Regions from separate parts of the Homo sapiens genome. Here region 1 is linked to region 2. Evidence: promoter capture Hi-C in human tissues and cell types (Jung and others, 2019). All regions are on one chromosome and are shown on one strand. The core of a region is centred on a gene start or on the middle of the fragment in contact, and the rest is flanking DNA. Distances in the headings are between cores, read along the strand shown. Region 1 holds the start of SLC22A17 (solute carrier family 22 member 17). Region 2 holds the start of MYH6 (myosin heavy chain 6).

Region 1 (3,976 bases), core at 1,439-3,938, 55 kb before region 2:
GAGGCTGAGGCAGGAGAATCGCTTGAACCTGGGAGGCAGAGGTTGCAGTGAGCTGAGATTATGCCACTGCACTCCAGCCTGGGCAACAGAGCGAGACTCCATCTCAAAAAGAAAGAAAAAAGAAAAAAAAGAAAGAAAAAAGAAAGATCAGTGGGGACATAGACATGGGTGTATTAATCCATAAGGTAGGACTATTGATCAGTGGGATGAATCTATTAATCCATGGGAATAATCAGTAAGGATAAGGTCACAGACCAGGGGAGATGAGACTATTGGTAAGTGATTATGGTCACTAACTATGAGTTAGTGAAGACATGGTTACTGATTCTTGGAGGCTGGGCTATTGATCTTTGGGGATAAGACCATTGATCTATGGAGATGAAGATAGGGAGCCTCTGGTCATTGCAAAAGGGGCACCAATCCCTGGGAGTTAGGCTATTGATCTAATGGGGTGGGGCATTTTTCCATGAGGATGGGCTTATTGGTTAATGTGCTGAAGGCTACAGATTTTAGAAGACCAAATTATTGATCTTTGGGGATGAAACCATGGTTCCATAGGAATGAGGCTACTGGTCTGTGGCAATGAGGCCACTGATGCATAGGGATGGGCTATTGACCTGTGGGTTTCGGATCATTGGCCCACAGAGGTGTGTGACTATTGGGCAGTGAGGATGGGTATTGATTTTAAGGAACTGGACTATTGAATGTTGGGATGGCTTTGATCCACAGAAGTTGAGTTATTAATCCACTTGGATGGAACTGTGGATCAATGGGGCTGAGTCTAATCGGAAGTTTAGTGCAGTGAGAGCATCTGGTCAGTGGTGAAGGTGACCAGAATCAGAGATGAGATTTTTGATCTGTGGGAAGAGTTATTGGTTGCTGGGATTGGGTTGTTGATCTCTAGAGGTGAAGCTACCGACTCATGGAAACGGGGATTTCGGTGAGAGGATCTCAAAGCCCTGAGGATCCATGAGGGTATGACTGCTAATCTATGGGCTATTCCCCTACAGAGCGTTGGGTCATTTGGTGGCAGGCATGGGACTGTGGGTTACTGGGTCTGAGGATATTGTCTTTGGAGATAGTTAGTTGACTTGTAGGGGAGGGGTCGCTGGTCAGAAATGGGGTAATTTGTTTGTGAAGTTGAACTATTGATCAGTGGGAATGGAGCTGTTGGTGTTTAGGAATTAACATATTGATCTTCAGGAATGAGGTCACTGAGATGGAGCGAACAGTCCATGTGGGCTGTTAGTGGGGATGAGACTATTCTCTTTGGAGATGAGGCCATTGATTCACGGATAGGGGGCCACTAATTAGTGGGAATGGGACTAATAGTCCATAGAGGTCGAGTCATTCCCTTGCGCGGAAGAGGTAGGGAAGGGGTATTTCTTGATGGAGAGTGAAGTTGAGACATGGATAGACCATTGAATAGAAGTCCAGAGAAGACTGCAGAGTCCAGCGAATCGTCTTCGACCTCCTGTAAACGCCCGCTGCTTGGGTTAGCTTCCCTAGCACCCCCTCCTTTCTACCAGCCCTGCCCCCACGACAGCCCTCACCTGTCTGCGGGGTAACCCAGGAACAGGTAGCCGGAGGCAAAGCCCAAGATGAAGAGGATCTGCTCCAGGATCACCTGCCAGCCCAGGTCACACACCAGATCCCACTGGGGATGTGAGAAGGGTGCAGCGGGCGTGAGGCCCCGCCCTCGCCGCTCTCTGCCCGCCCCCAGACCCGCGGCCCGCCTGGCCGCCTCACCTGGCCGATGGCGTTGGTGGTGAGCACAGGAAGGCCATTATAGTCCCAATCCTTGAGGCAATGGTTGAAGTCCGGCGGGGCGAAGCCGCTGCACGAGGGGTCGGTACTGGTGGCGACACGGCTGGCGGCGCTGGCTGCTAGGGCAGCGCTGGCGACGCTGACGCCGCTGGCATTGGGAGGCTGCTCCCAGCCAGAGGCATTAGGGGGGAAGGCCCCGTAGTGGCAATGCAGCGGGGGCGCCAGCGTGAAGATGGGGTCCGAGGCCATGCCCAGAGCCACGAAGAGCACCGGCAGGCAGCAGAGGCCGAGCTGCAGCTGCTGGCCGCCGCCCAGCGCCCCCACCTGGGCGAGCAGCGCCTCAAAGCTGAGGGGGCCTGGGGGCACGGCCAGCGACAGGCTGCTGCCCAGTCCGTCGCCGCCCGCGTCTCCCTCCCCCTCCCGCTCGCGCTCCCGCTCACCCTGCAGCTGCTCCGTGGGCACCGCATCTCCGAGGGTCCCGACCTGCTGTTGGGGGGCAGGGGGTGGCAGGAGAAGGGTGAAGCGGAGGAAACCGCAGAGCAAGGGCAGGGGGCAGGTGGGAGGGAGGGCTAGGAAGGCAGTCAGGGGCGAGGGATGCGCAGGAGGAAAATGCCAGACGCTCCGCGGGGGCGGGGGTGCTGGGAGAGGATGGCGTCGCCACCTGGGGCTCGGGCACTTACTCCGTTGGAGGTGGGGGTGATCTCTACAGTGTTGTCGATTTTGCCGCCGCCCCCGCCATTGGGCTCGGGGGTCCCGGTGGCCACCCGGGGAGCCAGCTTGCCGACCGCAGGGGCCCTGCCGGCCCGCGCCGAAAGGATGCGCTGTCCTCTGGCTCAGTTGCGCGCCGGCTGCCCGGACACAGACAGCTCGAAGAGATCCCGCTCTGCAGCTCTGCAGCCGCGGGCGCCTCCTTGGTCTCTGCGATCTCTGCGCTGCTTTCCCCTCCCCTTCCTCTAGACTCTCCTCCCCTTCCCACGTCAGCAGAACCTTCGGTCCAGACTCTTCGTCAGAGAGAGGAAGGGGGGCCAGGGCCCAGGGGAGGGAGGGAAGGGGGGCTCTGTCGTCTCTTTCCTGGGTCTGCGGGCCATTGCGGTAAAAAAGAAAAAAAGCTGAAGGATAGTAGCTAGTCCAGGCAGATGCCAGAGATTCTTCCTCTGCTTCCAATCATTTGCCATCATTCATTCATTCATTCATTCACCCATTCACTAATCAGTAAAATTTAAGTGTCCACTACGTTCCAGGACTTGCACTAGACTTTAAGGATAACAGGGTGGACAAGTTCCACTTTGGAGACCTTTACTCCAGGGAGACAGACATGTAAACTGGCTATTACAGTACAACTTATGCATATGGAAGACTGTCTTGGCCCTGTATCAGCCCTAGCTTCAGTCCTCTACAAGGAGACCACTTTCTTGGGTTTCATCACTCCCATCCTGTTTGAATCTCCATTTCTCAACAGCATTTGGCACTGTTGACCCCTCTTCCTCTAAACACTCTCTTCCTTTGCTGCTGAGTCTCTCTTGCTCCCCTTTTCTCCATTGCAGAAATCGTCTTCCAGCTCATGGCATTGGTGCTGAGCATGGGCAGGCCATTATCCTCCCGGTTCTTGAGGCAATGATTGAAGTCCAGCGGGGTGACGCAACTGCAGGAGGGGTCTGTATTGGTAGTGATGAGGCTGTGGTGCTGGCTTCTAGGGCCATTCCCGTCTGTATCATTTAGACACCATGGTTCAGTGTCTGGAATCCTCACAGACTTAGTCCTAGGCCCTCCTCTCATCTCACACTGTCTCCACTTTGGGATCTTACCTATGCCCACAGCTTCAATCACCACCCATACAAACAATACAAACCTGACGCCCAGACTGACATCTCCAGCTTCCACCTCTGTTCTGAGCTCCAGACCTATGAAGCCACCTCTTATTTGACCTTCACCTTGGATGACTCACAGGGACCTCAAACTCAATATGTTCAAGACGAAATTTTTGCTTTTCCCCCATAACTTGGTTGGCTTCCACTGCTTTTTTCTGCAGCGAATGGCACCCTCAACATCGCATTGTGGCCAAATGCTCAGGCAACAGCCTTTAGAGCTTTCTCTTCCTTATCCATGTTGAATTCTTTACAAAATTCTGCCCATTTTACTTCCTATATATTCTCAGACATCCCACATCTCTCCATCTCTACCATTATTAGTCAAGCTACCTGTTGCAAAG
Region 2 (4,384 bases), core at 160-2,659:
AGGGATCAGATTCTGGGCTCCTCAAAGGAGCATGTCCTGGCATCCCCACTGGCCTTGGCTTTTCTCCAGCCCTCTCAGCTCCCCCTGCAAGTGGCTCCACCTCTGCATCTTCTTTCCCAGACCTCCTTCCCTTCTGCCCCGGCGCCATGCCCTACTCACCTTCCCATTCTCGGTTTCAGCAATGACCTTGCCTCCCTCCCGGGACAAAATCTTGGCTTTGACAAACTCTTCCTTGTCATCGGGCACGAAGCACTCAGTGCGAATGTCAAAGGGCCGGGTCTGGGCCTCTAGACGCTCCTTCTCTGACTTGCGGAGGTACTGGGCCGCTGCCCCAAAGTCAGCCATCTGGGCATCGGTCATCTTGGTGCTTCCCCTGGGTCAGAGACAGGAGGGCTATGTTACTCCTGAGGGAGCCCAGGCTCCAGCGAGTGGCTTTGTCCTCTGCAGCCCCCCTCCCTACCCCCGCTCCTCTCCTCCACCCTGGGAGAGGCACCTGCTGTTGCACCCTCCCCTACTCAGGGCTCTGCTTCTCCTGCCCTCTGAGGTGATGCTGAAGGACAATCTCTGTAAGGGGTTTCCCTGGGGTGGCATTGGCTGGAGTATGCTAAGGGTTGGCGCTGAGTGCTTGGGACAGCAGACCCCTGGTCCAGCAATCCGGCTCCCAGGAGAAGCATGCCCCAGTCTCTGCAGAGAAAATGGGGGCAGTTCTCACCTGGTTATCCCTTCACGGAGAATCCTGAAGAATCTGGACCGTGGGTGGAGCAAGGAACAACAGAGGTAGAGCCGGGCAGAGAGAAGAACAGATGAGGAGAGTGAAGAACAACAGAGGCAGGCCACCCGGGGATGGAGGCAGCCCCAGAGCGCAGACAGGCAGGACAGACCAGGGAGTCAGAAAGGGAAAGACGCAGAGGCAGAAAAGAAAGGGCACCGAGTCAATATGAGTGCGAGGGACGGGGTGTGGAAACAGGGTTAGAAGCAGAGAGGCAGGGAGGTGAGAACACGTGCCAAGAAGGAAGGACAAGGGAGAGAGACAAAGAAGCATGATTGTGACAAGTGTCGATGAAGACCAAGAGGCAAGATAAAACCAGGATCAAGGGAAGGAAGCCATCCAAAGGAGGAAGGAAGATGGAAAGATGGAGACAACATGTAGGAGACTCAGAATGATGCAGAGAAAGAAATGGAGAGTCAGAGAAGGAGAAAAGAGGTTTCTGGGTTTCCTGTGGAACCTCCTTGTGTCAGGGGGAACTTCCCTGGGCCTGGAGATAGGCAGTTTTAATAGAGCCCTTAGGCCTCCAACTGACCTGCACCCCACTCCTGGTGAAGGAGGTCCCTCACGGTGGGGGCTCTGTGGACGGGCTGCAGGGCATCCCACCCCAAACCTCCTCTTACCTGGGCCGCAGGAGTCTCTCTATCTGTCCTCAAAGCTCCAGTTCCTTTATATCCCGTTTCCCCCACCCTCTGTCTAAATTTGGAGTCCTTCCGGAGGGACCCTCCCTCCCACCTCTCTCCCCTCCTGGCTCCTCCTCCTTTGATCCTTTGGCTCTGGAGGTGACAGGAGGACAGCAGGGCCCCCTGATTTGCCCAAGAAAGGTCTGCTGCCCCAGCCTCTCTGGCTCCACGGCCTTTTTTTAGTCCTTGGGCACATTCCTCCCCTTCAAAGGGCTGATGAGCAGATAGTGGGAAGACAGGACCTTCTCACACCGCCTCTCCCACCCTGCCATGGCCCTTACCTCAGTTATTTTTAACCCGAAGGGTGAACTGAAAACATGGGTGAGGGTCACCTTCTCCTGCAGGCCAAATGCCTGTCCTCCGCCTCCCAACCATGGGCTTTCCTCCCCTGTTCCCCAGCCTCTCCTTCCCATTCTGACCTCCCTCACACAGTCCCAGGCTGGGAGCATCTTCCTGCTGTTAGTACTGGAGCCCCCAGTGCTAGGGACTAAAAGCTGCAGTATGGTGCCCAGGGAAGGGATCTGTTGTCCATCTCCATGGCTCAGTTTTCTTTTGTCAGGAAATTCTGTCCTGGCCTCAGTCTGCATAAGTGCCATGCCTGGTCTCCTTCTGTTCCCCAAGTCTTCAGACAAGTGTTCTCCCAAGGTCTTGAGGCCACCCTGGTTTGGGGACACGTCTGGAGTCCCCACCCCTTCCCTAATGCTCCTGATAGAGTGGCCAACATCCAACCTGCTCACGCAATGGCAGTGATTCTCCCTGCCGCCTCAGGCAGATTTTCACACAGAACCCCAGTTCAGCACTCTCACATACAGACTTGACCGTGTCTGTGCCCATCTTCAGCCACACATGCAGATTTTTCACACTTACCCACTCAAGCTTGCAGATTTCTTTTCTACTTTCTTTTGTGTACATGGATGCACACATTTGCACATCCGCATTTGCACACATAGGCTTTTGCCCTCCCCTGCTACCCTCTGCTCCTGGGGTGGGGTGGGCAGAAGAAGATGGTGCTAATCCTAGGGCCTGAGAGAGGAGGGGGGTGGGTGAGGGGCTGTCCCCTTCTGCCTCACCGGGCTGCCAGAGGGTGCAGGTGCCTGGCAGGCCTGGGGATTTACACCATCTGGTCCCCAGGCACTGCATTCCATCGGGGTGGGGCTCTGCCACCTGCCCCCTCCCCAGGCAGAATTTTGTTGCCCCTTTCCAAGCCCTCCAGGGCTTATACTCACATTCCCTTCTTTGTGGGTGTCCTCAAGCACCCTAGGCCCTCAAGGCCCCGCTCCCCATCCTCCAATGCTGCCATCTCTCAGAGGCTGTAGGTGTCAGGTCTTCAGCAGGCTGTTCCTGTTATGACTAAGTGGACATTGTGTTCAGGAAACAAAGCCAGACTCCCCTGCTCTGGCCTTCCCCCCACCCTCACACCCAGGAACACCCTCCCAGCCCCCCTCCCACCAGTTTACTGTCACCTCTCAATATAGCTCCAGGGTGTGGAGGTGGGTAGGACGACAGGGGTCAGCTTCTCTGGGTAGGAGCACTTTCCATTAAGATGTGGCCTCTCCCCTAGCTCCCTAGGACGCTGCCACCCCATTCCTGGGCTCAGGAACACACCTCTCTTTCCAGAGCATTTGGACCTTTTCTCAATGTCCTTGGAGGGACCTTAGTTGACCCCACATCCCCATCTTCTGCAGGTGCTTATGCCAAATCATTACCCCCAGGGGATGCAGGCCACCTGTCCCCAGCTCTAGGTTACTCGAGGCCCCAGAATTCGAGCCGGGGGGTTAGCCCATGGCCAGTGCGTCACTGCTTGGTTCCCATAGCTCTGGGGACATGATAAGGAGCTGAGAACGCCAGGTCAGTCTGGGTCGGGGTCAGGTGACAAAGACCAGGCTTTGTCCTCAGGGAACCCTGTGCTCTGAGCAGGCCTCACTTGGTATAGGTGGTGGTGGCAGGGCAGCGGGGAGTGGAGGTGGTGGGGGGTAGTCCCCCGCTCCTGTGGAAGGAGGAGGAAGGAAGGTGTTCACTCAGCCCCAGGCCCTGCCCGTCTGCTCCGCTGTACCGTCCTCTCCCTTCCCCAGGCTCCTTCTCTCCCTGCTCTCACATATTGCTCTCCGTCCTCCCTAAGCTGCCTTGCACACAGCTCCTCATTCTGCTGGGAGTCCTGGAATATAAGGACAGGGATGGAGGCTTCGGCCACAGGTGAGGGTGCCAAGGAGGCAAGGCTGGCCTCCCTGGCACAGGTTGCCTGTCTTCTGCCTGGCTCCCCGTTGCATCTGTCTCTGTCTCACCTTCATTCCCTCTGCCTGCTTCTCCATCTCAGAGTGGGGCCTGCCTCCGATTCTCCCTGGCCCGTGTCTCCACCCGGCTCAGGGTCTAACATGAGGCTCTGCCCTCTCCGAGCTGGCCTCTTCTCTCGCCCTGGGCCTCCACATCTTGCTCCAGGCTCTTCCTCCTCTCCAATCTCCTTGCGCCTTCCTGACTCTCCTTGCATTTGCAAGTGACCCAGGATTCTTTCCTTCACTCGGGATCACCACCCGCAGCTCTTCAAGCTTCTCCCTCCAAGGCTCCCTCTCTTTTCCTCTCTCCCCATCCCCCTCAGCACCCCTCCTTCTCCCTGGCTTGGCTCTCAGACCTCTCTCAACCCTGCTGTCTGCATCCAGCCCCCGACCATTCTCATAGGATCTGTATCTCTTGCGGTCTCTCTTGCTCTGGTTGCTTAGGTGCCCTGGGTCTCTCTGCATAGCTCCCTTTTCAAGGGTTCTCTCCTTTGTTTCTAGTTATCTCTTCATTGCTGTCCAAGTCTGTTCCTAGCCAGAGGAATGGCCCTAGGGATCTCGGCCCAAGCCGAGGTTGTGCCACTGCACTCCAGCCTGGGCAGCAGAGTGAGACTCCGTCACAAAAACAAAAACAAAAACAAAAAGGCTGAAAGAATCCTAGAAAT

What was found. The method cuts DNA at HindIII sites, captures the fragments that hold promoters and counts their contacts. A contact is called where the count stands out against the background at its distance.
Region 1: the fragment with the promoter of SLC22A17 here is called in contact with the fragment with the promoter of MYH6 in region 2 in 1 of the 25 tissues and cell types used here (thymus).

Annotation. Positions count from the first base shown.
Region 1 is chr14:23,350,199-23,354,174 of GRCh38, forward strand. SLC22A17 (solute carrier family 22 member 17) reads right to left here and starts at 2,689. Exons shown (of 10, transcript NM_016609.7): 1 at 2,448-2,689; 2 at 1,750-2,253; 3 at 1,554-1,657. The coding sequence starts at 2,543. The HindIII fragment of the contact is 16,780 bases long and covers 1-3,976 here.
Region 2 is chr14:23,406,864-23,411,247 of GRCh38, forward strand. MYH6 (myosin heavy chain 6) reads right to left here and starts at 1,410. Exons shown (of 39, transcript NM_002471.4): 1 at 1,390-1,410; 2 at 713-745; 3 at 160-373. The coding sequence starts at 360. RefSeq lists enhancers at 1-2,580, 263-763. The HindIII fragment of the contact is 16,944 bases long and covers 1-3,158 here.